Linked DNA regions of Homo sapiens: all the other regions are linked to region 3. The links are contacts of gene promoters, found by promoter capture Hi-C in blood cells and fetal thymus (Javierre and others, 2016). All regions are on one chromosome and are shown on one strand. Each heading gives the region's core, a stretch centred on a gene start or on the middle of the fragment in contact. The rest is flanking DNA. Distances are from core to core; before and after follow the strand shown. Region 1 overlaps ATP6V1E1 (ATPase H+ transporting V1 subunit E1). Region 2 overlaps MICAL3 (microtubule associated monooxygenase, calponin and LIM domain containing 3). Region 3 holds the start of BID (BH3 interacting domain death agonist).

Region 1 (3,934 bases), core at 1,242-3,741, 180 kb before region 3:
AATATCCGTAAGTGAGTAGTGGCTATGATACTGGATGGGACAGTGGCTACTAGGAAACAATGTTCTGAGGTTTAAGTTACCAGAATATGAAAAAATCAAGGTGAAAGTGCTTTAGTTATAAGACAAGTATCTGCATAAACAGTAAACTGCATATCTAGGTCAGGGAATAACTAGGTTGGCAGCCACAGCAATAGACTCCCACTAGAAGTCTAGAAGATGCCCAGCATTTTAGAACAAATGGAATTTTCCTGGCTTGTTTCCTAGAGTTCCTGTGTACAAATCTGGAAACATCTGAAAAGCCAGCAGCTTTATGATAATTCCTTTAAATAAGTATTTGTGTCTGAGCACGGTGGCTCACACCTGTAATCCCAGCACTTTGGGAGGCCAAGGCGGGTGGATCACCTGAGGTCAGGAATTTGATAACAGCCTGGCCAACATGGTGAAACCCCGTCTCTACTAAAAATACAAAATTAGCCGGGTGTGGTGGCAGGTGCCTGTAATCCCAGCTACTCGGGAGGCTGAAGCAGGAGAATCGCTTGAACCTGGGAGGTGGAAGTTGCAGTGAGCCAAGACTGCACTCCAGCCTGCGCAAAAAAGAGTGAAACTCCATCTCAAAAAAGCAAAACAAAACAAAAAAACACAAGTATTTGCTTTAGTTCCCATCACTCCTGTTAGAGAAAGAACTTGTCAGCACCTTACATGTAGTAAAATGTACATATTCGAATCCTAGGTCAACAAAACACTTGTTCTGACCCCAAATTCACCCTCATGTAAATGTTACCACCTCAGCAAATGCTACTACATGCCCAATTCTCATTCTTTTTGAGAAAATGTCCAAAACTGGAAAGACAGCAACAAATCCCAAATACCAGTGAATGGACACGTGTTCTCTGTCCCACTTCAAAGTAACAGCAGACCAACTACCAAGAAGTACCCCCACACTCACCTGCTGGGCTATGAGATCCAGCCGGCTTTCCAGGGTGTTGGAAACCTTTATTTTACGATCTCCATTATAGATCTCAACTCCACCAGCTCTGCAAAAAAAAAAGCACAGGAAATAATCATTTTCAAAGACTTGAGAAAGATACATGGTACCCTTTACTCCCGCAGAGGAATGCCCTTGTCTTGGTGTGTAGACTGCGCAACCTAAGCAACAGGCTTGAAAGGAACTGAAAAAGCTTCTGAAGATGTAACGCACAGTTGGTTTCAGGAAACCCCAGTCCCCGCCTAGATGTCCATTATATGAAACAGCGTAGTATTTGCATACAACCATCACACATCCTCCCCTATATTGCAAATCATGTCTACAGCACTTAAAATAGCTAATACGATGTAAATGGTTGTTATACCGTAGTGTTTAGGGAGTGAAAAGAAAAAGTTGGTTGAATTCACAGGTGTGGACCCCAAAGATACAGAGAACTGACTGTATTCATCTCAATAACTGTCATTTACCAAGTGACACTATGTGTCAATTTGTTTTGTTTTTTTTGAGACTCGCTCTGTTGCCCAGGCAGGAGTGCAATGGTGCGATCTTGGCTCACTGCAACCTCTGCCTCCCGAGTTCAAGCAATTCTCCTGCGTCAGCCTCCCCAGTAGCTGGGATTACAGGCACCTGCCATCACGCCTGGCTAATTTTTGTATTGTTGTAGAGACGGGGTTTCACCATGTTGGCCAGGCTGGTCTTGAACTCCTGACCTCAGGTGATCCGCCCACCTCTGCCTCCACAAGTGTTGGGATTACAGGAGTGAGTCACCGCGCCCAGCCTGTGTCAATTTGATTTTATGTTACAAAACCTGTTTTAATTATCACAGCCAGCCCTCCCCAACAAAATGAAAAAGAGAGGATTTCATCTCAGTTTGCAAATCACTCAATCCTCATCTGAATGTTTTCTTAAGCCCAATCCTGCTCATTACTGATGAGGCCCTATCACGACTGCATGTGTGTCTGATAAAAGATGCCACTGCTGGCCGGGCGTGGTAGCTCACCCCTGTAATCCCAGCACTTTGGGAGGCCGAGGTGCTCCCAAACTCAAGTTTGAGGCCAGCCTGGCCAACATGGCGAAAGCCTGTCTCCACTAAAAATACAAAAATTAGCTGGGCATGGTGGGGCGTGCCTGTAGTCCCAGCTACTTGAGAGACTGAGGCAGGAGAATTGCTTGAACCCAGGAGGCAGAGGTTGCAGCAAGCCGAGATCACACCACTGCACTCCAGCTTGGGTGACAGAAAGAGACCCTTACTCAAAATACAACAACAACAACAAAAAAAGAGGCTGGGTGCGGTGGCTCACGCCTGTAATCCCAGCTCTTTGAGAGGCCGAGGTGGGCAGATCACGACATCAGGAGATTGAGACAATCCTGGCTAACAAGGTGAAACCCCGTCTCTACTAAAAATACAAAAAAAATTAGCGAGGCATGGTGGCGGGTGCCTGTAGTCCCAGCTAATCGGGAGGCTAAGGCAGGAGAATGGTGTGAACCTGGGAGGTGGAGCTTGCAGTGAGCCGAGGTCGTGCCACTGCACTCCAGCCTGGGTGAGAGTGAGACTCTGTCTCAAAAAATAAATAAATAAATAAATAAGATAAAAAATGCTATGAGGTTAGTGCTAATACGTCAATTTACAGATAAGGGAATCAGGGCTCACTACTATGGTTTGAGTCTGTTCCCTCAGAAACTAATGGTGAAATTTGATTCTCAATGTGGCAGTGTTGGGAGGTGGAGCATAGTAGGAGGTGTTCAGGGCTCAAGGGCAGATCCCGAGGCAATGAACTGTGGCGAGGGCCTGGATTCTAGCTCCGGCAGGACTCGACTGTGAGCAGAGGGTGGGCTGGTATGATAGGGAGTCTGGTTCCCTAGGCTCTCTGGCCTCCTCTCTCGCCATGTGGTCTCTATGCACACACCCACTCCCCTTCCACCTTCTGCCATGAGTGGAAGCAGCCTGAGGCCCTCACCAGATGCAGCTGTCCAATCTTGAACTTTCCAGCCATGAGAATCATGAACCAAATAAACCTCTTTTCTCCATGAATTACCCAGCCTCGGGTATTCTGTTATAGCAACACTAAATGGACGACACCACTCAATGAAACTGAATAAACGAGTCCAAGATTACCCAGGTAGTAAGTGGCAGAATCAGGAATCTAACCCAACTCTGACAGCATATCTTATGAGTTTATATACTTTTTCCATTTACAGAGCATTTTCACATGTACTATCTCATCTTTTTTTCTTCACTGCATGAAACAAAAAAGCAAAAAGCAATGATCCTATTTTACATATGATGAATTCAGTCTCCAGGTCCCATAGTAGCAAAAGGCCAAGATAGGACTCAAATCTAGGTCTTACATTCCTAAGTGTGATAATCAGCTAACTTCAAAATGTGTCCAAGGCACCAGGCATGGTGGCTCACGCCTGTAATCCCAGCACTTTGGGAGGCCGAGCGGGCAGATCACGAGGTCAGGAGATCGAGACCATCCTGGCTAACACAGTGAAACCCCATCTCTACTAAAAATACAAAAAAATTAGCTGGGCGTGGTGGCAGGCGCCTGTAGTCCCAGCTACTCAGGAGGCTAAGGCAGGAAAATCGCTTGAACCTGGGAGGCAGAGGTTGCAGTGAGCCAAGATCATGCCACTGTACTCCAGCCTGGGTGACAGAGTGAGACTGCCTGTCTTAAAAAAAAAAAAAAAGTGTCCAAGGTACTTTCTTCAATGTTAGTCAGTAGTGTGGCTAGGTGGCCTCAGACAGGCCAGTGAAATCGAGAAAATGACACTGGCTCTCCCCTTGTCAGGAGTTTCTACTGCCTACCCCAGCTACACAAAGCTTGTTAGGAACACTGATCCCAGAAATGTTCTGTCATTTCCTCACAGTCATAAAAATACCACTCATACTTGCAATTCTATCTCTAAGGAACCTAACTACCAGGCATACACAATTCTTGTTTTGAT
Region 2 (4,566 bases), core at 2,067-4,566, 220 kb after region 3:
TCAACTACTCAGGCAGTCAAGGTTGCAGTGAACCATGATCGCACCACTGCACTCCAGCCTAGGTGGCAGAGTGAGATGCTGTCTCAATTTAAAAAAAAAAAAAAAAAAAAAAAGGCTGGGCACAGTGGCTCACACCTGTAATCCCAACACTTTGGGAGGCCGAGGCCAGTGGATCACAAGGTCAGGAGATCGAGACCATCCTGGCTAACACGGTGAAACCTTGTCTCTACTAAAAAAAAAATACAGAAAATTAGCCGGGCATGGTGGCAGGTGCCTGTAGTCCCAGCTACTCGGGAGGCTGAGGCAGGAGAATGGTGTGAACCCGGGAGGCGGAGCTTGCAGTGAGCCGAGGTCGTGCCACTGCACTCCAGCCTGGCCCACAGAGCAAGACTCCATCTCAGAAAAAAAAAAAAAAATGCAATCAACTGCAAGGCTTGGGGTGACAGTTTCCTGGTCATTCTTCCCAGTTTTTTTGTGTCTTTATAGCTAGAGATGACTAAAGCCCACCTCCAAGAAAACAGCAAGTCACGTACAACTGAAGCCCATGGGGGCAGGATGCTGTTCTCTCCACCGGGGCAATCCAAGCACCTGAGTGTCTGACACCACCCATCACCCAGGGGATCCGAGCTGAATTCTAAAGACTGGAACCAAAGATGACAGAGTGCGTGGCTGGAGAGAGGGGGAAGTCCACAGAGTTTAGGTAAATTTCTGAACCACATCCCCACCACGCCCACAATGTACTGCATTGAAGTACACCGGAAGCTAAAGACCAAAAAGGAATCAGATTTTCAGCTCTGCCACCTAAAGCAGAAACTGAGGGCCTTATTCACCGCACAGACTTTAGCCCAAGTGCCATGCCTCCAGTTTCACAGTTTCACCAGCAGCTCAAGCAAAATGGCCTGGACACTAAAGATGGCCTCTGGGTCAGAGTATCACTCATTTCCTCTGTCCACAAACCACTTTGATTCTCTTTGATTCTCTCTGTCCCTCATCTCCCCATCTAGTCTTTTTTTTTTTTTTTTTTTTTTTGAGACAGAGTCTTGCTCTGTCACCCAGGCTGGAGTGCTGGAGTGCAGTGGTGTGATCTCAGCTCACTGCAACCTCGGCCTCCTGAGCGCAGGCAATCCTCCCACCTCAGCCTCCAGAGTAGCTGGGACCACAGGTACACACCACCACGCCCAGCTAATTTTTGTACTTTTTGTAGAGATGGGGTTTAGCTATGTTGCCCAGTCTGCTCTCAAACTACTGGGCTCAAGCAATCTGCCCACCTCAACCTCCCAAAGTGTTGGTATTACAGGCATGAGCCACTGCGCCCGGCCCATCTGGTCTTATTAAATACTTCATTCTCTGCAAATGCAGACGTTTTCTCAGCTCTGATTATTTTTTCTAAAGTAATGACCCCCCACCTGGCTAGATGAATGCTTCTAGCAAAGGAAAAGACCAGAATGTGAAAATTGTACTGCAATAGAACATAAAGCCCGTCCAACCCCACCTCCCATCAGACCTGGGGTGGTGGCAGCAGCAGGCGTCAGGGCTCTCAGGCCTGCCCATTAGTCATCCCTAAGGCCCGTTAGCACACGGGTTAGGAGGAGCACACACTCTGGAATCAGAAAGCCCAGGATTGAACCCAGCCCTGCTTTCAGTCAAGGCTTTGTCACTCACTATCACTCCCTTGACCTAGGACCTCACAAAACCTTGTCATCCGTAAAACTGGGGATGATAAGTTCTACCTTGAATGTTGTTGTGAGGAATAAATGAGGTAATGTCTATGCAGCACCTAGCACAGATTCCTGCAGATAAACACTCAATAAATGTTAACTATCATCCACTACCTAGTCATCAGAAAAGCACAATGATCTGGTATCTTTAAGTCCTTCCGCTTCCAAAAAAAAAAAAGAAAAGAAAAAAGAAAAAGATGTGTGGATTTTTTCCCCCTAAAGGTCTCAGTGAAGTGAAACTTAAGAAGGAAAACCTGGGCCGGGTGTGGTGGCTTACGCCTGTAATCTCAGCACTTTGGAAGGCCAAGGAGGGTGAATCACCTGAGGTCAGGAGTTCGAGACCAGCCTGACCAACACGGTGAAACCCTGTCTCTACTAAAAAATACAAAAAATTAGCAGGGCGTGGTGGCAGGTGCCTGTAGTCCCAGCTACTTGAGAGGCTGAGGCAGAAGAATCGCTCGAACCCAGGAGGCAGAGTGCATGAGCCAAGACTGCGCCATTGCACTCCAGACTGGGCGCGACAGAGCAAGAGACTCCGTCTCAAAAAAAGAAGAAGAAGAAGAACCCAATTCAAATCCCAGTTCAGGGACCAACTCATTTGCAACTTAAAGCAAATCATGTTACCTCCATTTCTTTGCCTATAAAATGGGAATAATAGACTCTATTAAACTTTAACGACTTCAGAGACAATTAAGAATCAATGAGATAACAGGTCATGAAAAAGCTTTCACTTCCTCAAGTAAAAAGCAACTAAGTAGTAAATCCAGAGCATAATAATAATAATAATTATTATTATTATTATTTTTTTTTTGAGATGAAGTCTCGCTCTGTATCCCAGGCTGGAGAGCAGTGGCGTGATCTTGGCTCACTGCAACCTCCACCTCCCAATTCCCGGTTAAGCAATTCTCCTGCCTCAGCCTCCCCAGTAGCTGGGATTACAGGCGCGCACCACCACGCCCAGCTGGTATTTTTAGTACAAACAGGGTTTCACCACGTTGGCCAGGCTGGTCTTGAACTCCTGACCTCGTGATCCGCCCGCCTGGCCTCCCAAAGTGCTGGGATTACAGGTGTGAGCCACCGCGCCGGGCCCAGAGCATAATTATTATTAAAATGCCAGGCCCCATAATATTATGGAACATAAATAAGCCAATGATGGCTCTTATTTTTTCTAGAACATTAGATTTGATGCCCTTTTCGTCTGTTCACATGGAACCTGCTACAAGACGGAGAAGGCAAATGGCTGCTCCTAGCAGATCCCAGTTCAGAGGCACGGCCCAGCAAAGCTAGCACTCTGCCAATGGTCAGGCTTCGACCATCTGGGCCACTTCCCAGAAGCCAGTGCCAGGAGAAATTAGGTAATTCATCTGGTTCCACCTGGACATGTGAAACCAACGACAACCAAAATCCTCACCTGCAGGACTACTCGACAGATGCAGGAAAGGGTCCCCTTTGACCCTCTGCTCTTCTGTACTGAATGGTGTACCACTCTTCCAGGGCATGTGCCATCCTTCCTTTAAAGGGCAACACATGATCCAGGAAGAAGAGCTCAATTTTTCCTTATTTTTACTTCTAGGACCAAGACGTGAGTTTCATTTTTAATCTACCACAGAAATGTCTGGAGAGCTGGAAGTTTGAGTGGGAGGAGGAATGGGGGGGACCTCATTACCCTAATTTAAAAACGGAGCATGCAACCAAAACTGCATCCAATATCATCATCCCCAGGTCTCTCAAACCCAAGGAAGAGAGGAAAAATTTACTTTTATGTTTATTGAACATCTGCTACGTGCCAAGGACTGTGCTAAGTTCTTCACGTACATTATTTCCAAAGCCCATTTTCTCTTCCACACCTAGTAACACCATGGAATAACCACCACGGAACAGGATCATCCCAGGTGGGGGTTTGGGGGGAGGAATTACAATATGCAGTCAAGTTTAAGACGTTTCAAATGTTAGCGCTGTAAACACAAATAAACAGCCTTGACTGAGGAACCAGGTCTGAGTTCTAAAGTATCCTTTACAGGAGGAACACACAAACCATGTCTTTCCTATAATTATGAAATTAACTCAAGCTGTTGAATACACTATAAAAGAGATTTAAAACTTCTAAACCTGGAGCACAAGAAAAACTCACTATAAGACTTGAACAATCTGGGGCTGGATTTCTGACCTGAGAAGTACATCTGGCAATCAAATATGGAATGAACGGCATCCTCTGAGAGGGCTGCAGAGATGTGCTCACGGGAGAAGGTAACCACAATGAACTGGCCTGTGTGCGGCCAGGTAACCAGAAGGCGGGGCTTTCCCGCAGGCGGCAGCGACTGTAGGAAGATGTCTTTCTCAGCTTAAAACCCAGTTCATCCTCATCCCTGGAGTACAACGACTGTCTATGGAGCAAAGTGTCAGATGGGACCAAATACACATTGGTGGCCTGATATTCAAATGTCATCCTCTCCATGCACATCCCACTAAAAACAAGCTTAGGGGGAAAAAAAAAAAAAAAGCTGTCCACCTGTCCACAGTTGACCTTCATTCCTCTACATCAACCCGTTTCACATAAATCACAATTAACATCTGCATTAAACACCATTAAAAGAACACAAATGTGGTTTGAACTCTTGGACATACTTTCTCTGCATTCAGAGTCAGGAAGACCAGCCAAGATACGGGGCTGGTCCCCGCCCCTTAACGGGATGCGGCACAGAGGCCTTGCCTGAGGGGCCTGCCAGACCCCTTCGTCCCGGCTACCTACTGAGCAAGCGGGGTGGCGGCTCACCAGTGCCGCATGCCAGGCGGAGGGTCTCGCTGCGGCTGGCTTTCTGCTAGGCCAGGCAAGCCCGGTTCCGTGTAG
Region 3 (4,475 bases), core at 214-2,713:
GTCACCACTCTCACATCTCATGAACAGAGACACGAGCTGCTTCCTCATGCTCCCTGTGCCCGTCCTGGGAGATCCCTGCCTTTAAACCCCAGCCACGAACTGCTGACCCCGCATTTCCTCTTCCCTCCCTGGGCAAGAGGGGCAGAAGGGGCAGGGACGCACACCCTGGGCCGCAGGCAGAGGCTTGGCCAGGGTCGTCCTCCCGGCAGTGCCTCCCTGGAGCTCTGTCTACCTCAACTCCTGATGCCAGAGGATCCCTCTGCGCTCCCCACACCCTTAAGACCCCAGCTCAGGGAATCTGGTCTCGGTCATCACTCCCAGGGGACTGCAGGGCCCCAGGACGGCACACATTCAGGCCCAGGAGAGCTCCCCCCATCTCAAAGCCTCCTGTGGGTGGAGATGGAATGTGGAAAAACCGCATCCTCTGCAGCTCCCCCACAGTGAGAGCGAGGACTGAGGGTGTGGATAAGGCTCCAGGAAGGGGGTGCAAGCCTGAGAAGGTGGAAGAGCTCTGGGTGGGTCCATCTGCTCCTCACCTGCCCCAACCCTGCCTGCAGGTGAAGGCCGGTCCAGCCGCAGAAGGCCCAGCCCCCAGCCCACTTACAGAATCCGCACTGTGCTCCTCCAGCCGGCCCGGCCCCTCGCTGCCCACCGAGCCATCATGACCCCAGCACCGCTGCACATTCGTATTTGTTGAATGAATGAATGAACCCTTGCCAGCCCAGCCACTTGGTGGCTGAGGGCTTCAGAGCTCTCCCAGGGTCCCCTGGGGTCATTCAGCCACTCAACAGTTTCCCAGCAGCAGCAGCGAGGATCCGCACATCATTGCCAGTGCTCTAAGGAGCGGGCGAGCCCCAGTAAGCGGCCGCTCTGACCGCGCTTTGTCAGCCCTGAGCTCCGCTCGGGAGGAGCCGGCAGGTGTCTGCGGTGCTGGAAAGACCACGGTGTGGGCGGGGATTCCGATCCGCCGGCAAGGGTGGCCTGCACCCGGCCAGGCCCGCGGGTTTTCTCCTCTCCGGGGCTGGCCTCGGCCCCTCCCCCTCCCCGCGCCCCGCACCCCTCCCCTGAATCCCCAGGCCACGTGGAGAGGACACAACAAAGCCTTCCCCGCCTCCGAGGCGGACCCGACCCTCAGCACCGACCTGCCGGCCGCGCCGAGGAGGGCGCCCGGGCGGAGGGGAGGCGGGAGAGACCCGGCCCTCAGGTCGCTGCTGAGGCCTGGGGCTCTGACCCCCCGCCTCCCCTCCTCTGGCTCCCACCGCGGTCGGGCCCAGGGCGGGCGGCGGGCCCTGAGCTCCACGCCGGGGCAGGCGGCAGGCAGGGGTCACGGGCTGGGGCTCGGCGCGTACCCCGGGAGGGGCGCGGGTGCACTCACCACCCTCCAGCCGCGGGGGCGCGGGCGCGTCCGGGCCGAGGCAGCGTCTCCCAGGCGCGCGGACACGGTCGACTACCCGCTTCCTCCTTATGGCGCCCCGCGCGCTTCCTCCTTCGGCCCCCCACGCCCGGGCCCGCCCCGGCCCGCCCCGGCCCGCCCCCGGCGGCTTGCGGGGACCCGGGGAGCCCGCGCCGGCGCGGGGCTGTGGAGCGGGGCGGGGAGCCGGCAGCGCAGTGAGAACCAGGCTTTCCACCCTTACCCCTTACGCGACTGTTTCAGACAGTGTCGTCCAACTTTAAGTTGGCCACTTACTCCAGCGCCGCTGGGATAATTCCTAATGATTCTCTGGGAAACATTCAGAATCCCCAGGCTGTTTCTGGAACAGTCTGGGGTGGTCATTCTAGGTCCTCACGGAACCAGGGGTTTGGAAAGTGGGTGAAGCCATGTGGGTTGCAGAGAATCTGGCCCAGCCCCTCACCAGTCCCTGTGCTTGTTGTTTATTCTTTAATTATTTGGATATCAACTCTGATTTAAAACATCAGTTTAACATATAGATAATGCTGGGACTACAGGCGCACACCACACCCAACTAATTTCTTTTTCAGTTTTTAGTGGAGGTGGTGGGGGGGGGGTCTCCACCTCTGGAGGTCTCAGGCTGGTCTCGAACTCCTGGGCTCCAGCGATGCTTCCCACCTCGGCCTCCCAAGGTGCTGGAATGACAGGCCAGTCCATGCATCCCCGGATGCAGCTCTCACCGGCAGTGCTGCTGCAGAGCCCTTTGTGGGCGTCTTCACTTCTCTTGAGTGTGATACCTAGGAGTGGAAATGCGAATCATAGGGCTGGACGAGCTTCATGGTATTAAAAACTGCCTGCTTTCCAAGGTGATGCACACCGTTCGGCACTTCCACCAGCCCTGTTGGAGCGTCCAGTTGCTCTGCGCCCTCGCGTGGGCTCACTCCCTGAGCCCACTGTGGCTCCTCCAGACGCCCTCACTTCTACCCGGGCTCCCTAGACTCTTGCCTCTTTTATAAAAGGTCAGAGGATGTCACTCACGCTTTAACATCCTCTGAATAAAAGCCAAGTTCCTTTCAGTGGCCCGCAGAGTCCCACGCGACCTGCCCTGCTCTAAGCAAATCCTACCCTGTCCCTGTTCCTCCTCGGCAGCCCCATGGCCTCTGGCTTTCACCAGGCCTCACTTCATTTTCCTCCACAGCCAGCATCGCAGCATGACATACCACGGAGTCGTTTGTGTGTGTGTTGCCTACCTCCCCTCTCGGAATGTAGCCTCCACGAGGACAGGGGCTTGTTTCCTGCATGCTCTTCACTCGGGCTGGGCACTCTGGGGGGCTAACAAATGGAAGATCCTGTGAGCAGGGAAACCGTCAGATGGCATTAGGGGCCGGTGCCCTGCAGAAGACGAAAGGGAAACTTCATGGACTGAGGCCAGGTCATCTGCAGGGTGGTGTTCAAATTCATGGTACAATGTCAGCAGGCGCCCAGATGGGAAAAGAGAGGGACGTGCACCTGGGCACAAGAAGCTGCAGGGGCCCCTCCCAGGGCAGGCGAGAGCTTGGACAGTGGGGCACAGTGGGCAAGAGGCCAGTGGGGTGGCCTGAAGGCAGGAGGCTCCAGCAGCCTGGATGAGCAGTTGGATTTTATCCTCAGCACTGTGGGGGCCACTGGCCCTGTCATGCAGGGCAGGACCTGTACCAATTGGCCCCCACAGTCTCTGCCTCTCCTGTTGGCTTTTTGCAGGTCTCTCAAGTGCTTCTTACAGTCAGGGTAGAGCCTCCCCGCCTCAATCCTCCCTGTCCTGATCTGCTGCCTCTATGATGCTTTGGGCTTCAAAATCTGTCTGCAGTATTTGTAAAATGAGAGAGGGTGATGTTTCCTGCAAAACAACCACTTCAAAAAGAAAGGGGGGCGGGGTGCCAGAAAACAATTCAGGGGGTGACGGACTGGGGGGCTATGGAAGGGTCCAGGGAAATTCCGGGGATGATGGGATTCTTCTATACAGGGATTGTGGTGGATGCCACACAATTGTACACTTTTGTGAGAACTCTGCACGAAGAATGGTGAGTTTTACTGTATGTAAAATTATACCTTAATTAACAAATGAAACAATATACACATACATGAGAGAATGATGACTTTATTTTTTTTTTTGAAACAGGATCTAGCTCTGTCACCCATGCTGGAGTGCAGTGGTGTGATCACAGCTCACTGCAGCCTTGACCTCCCAGGCTCGAGTGATCCTCCTGCCTCAGCCTCCCAAGTATCTGGGACTGCAGGCATGCACCGCCACGCCTGGCTAATTTTTTAAAAATTTTTTTTAGACGGAGTCTGGCTGTGTCACCCATGCTGGAGTGCAATGGTGTGATTTCCGCTCACTGCAACTTCTGCCTCCCGGGTTCAAGTGATTCTCCAGCCTCAGCCTCCCAAGTAGCTGGGATTACAGGCACCCACCACCATGATTGGCTGGCTAATTTTTGTATTTTTAGTAGAGACGGGGTTTCACCATATTGGCCAGGCTGTTCTCGAACTCCTGACCTCAGGTGATCTGCCCGCCTCAGACTCCCAGAGTGCTGGGATTACAGGCGTGTGCCACCACACCTGGCCTTTTTTTTTTTTTTTTTTTTTTTTTTTTGGGACAGGGTCTTGCTATGTTCCCCAGGCTGGTCTTGAACTCCTGGGCTCAAGTAATCCTCCCACCTCGGCCTCCCAAAGTGCTGGGGTTACAGGCATGAACCACTGCACCCGACCTGAATGATGTTTTTGGCAATGAAAATGAAACACAAAATCCAGCAAGGTTTGACGGGGAAGGCGAGCTGGCGACCACATAGTCACAGTCGGCCTTTGCTTCCGCTTTATGCTGCAGTTTCTCACTGTCACTTCCTGCCACCGGGCTCGTCTTCCTGTGAAAATTCAGCCCCTCTTCCTCAGTTACCCCTTTGCAACAGAACGAGGCCGGCATTTTCTAAAGCGTCCTTGAGGAGTCCAGTTCCTAAAAGATTATTTCAGAGTCCACTGTTGTGGGCTGACTTGAATGCTCTCAAAATTCGTAAGTTGAAGCCCTGACCCCCAGGACCTCAGAACGTGA

The links. Contacts are between HindIII fragments. The CHiCAGO score rates a contact against its expected background, and 5 or more counts as called.
Region 1: a fragment that was not itself captured here is called in contact with the fragment with the promoter of BID in region 3 in 1 of 17 cell types (total B cells); the score reaches 5.9 in total B cells.
Region 2: a fragment that was not itself captured here is called in contact with the fragment with the promoter of BID in region 3 in 7 of 17 cell types (naive CD8 T cells, total B cells, total CD8 T cells and 4 more); the score reaches 7.3 in naive CD8 T cells.

What each region holds. Positions count from the first base shown.
Region 1 is chr22:17,593,583-17,597,516 of GRCh38, forward strand. It overlaps ATP6V1E1 (ATPase H+ transporting V1 subunit E1), which reads right to left. Exons shown (of 9, transcript NM_001696.4): 8 at 947-1,034. Among named protein-coding and RNA genes, the nearest start is that of SLC25A18, 32 kb to the left of the region's middle. The HindIII fragment of the contact is 2,631 bases long and covers 1,177-3,807 here.
Region 2 is chr22:17,996,045-18,000,610 of GRCh38, forward strand. The region is part of intron 1 of MICAL3 (microtubule associated monooxygenase, calponin and LIM domain containing 3); the gene reads right to left. Among named protein-coding and RNA genes, the nearest start is that of MIR648, 17 kb to the left of the region's middle. RefSeq lists an enhancer at 397-596. The HindIII fragment of the contact is 1,752 bases long and covers 2,441-4,192 here.
Region 3 is chr22:17,773,006-17,777,480 of GRCh38, forward strand. It overlaps BID (BH3 interacting domain death agonist), which reads right to left and starts at 1,464. Exons shown (of 6, transcript NM_001196.4): 1 at 1,376-1,464. It overlaps LINC00528 (long intergenic non-protein coding RNA 528), which reads left to right and starts at 4,285. Exons shown (of 1, transcript NR_103718.1): 1 at 4,285-4,475. RefSeq lists silencers at 973-1,302, 1,333-1,402, 1,423-1,472, 1,493-1,592 and an enhancer at 4,320-4,475. The HindIII fragment of the contact is 11,451 bases long and covers 1-4,475 here.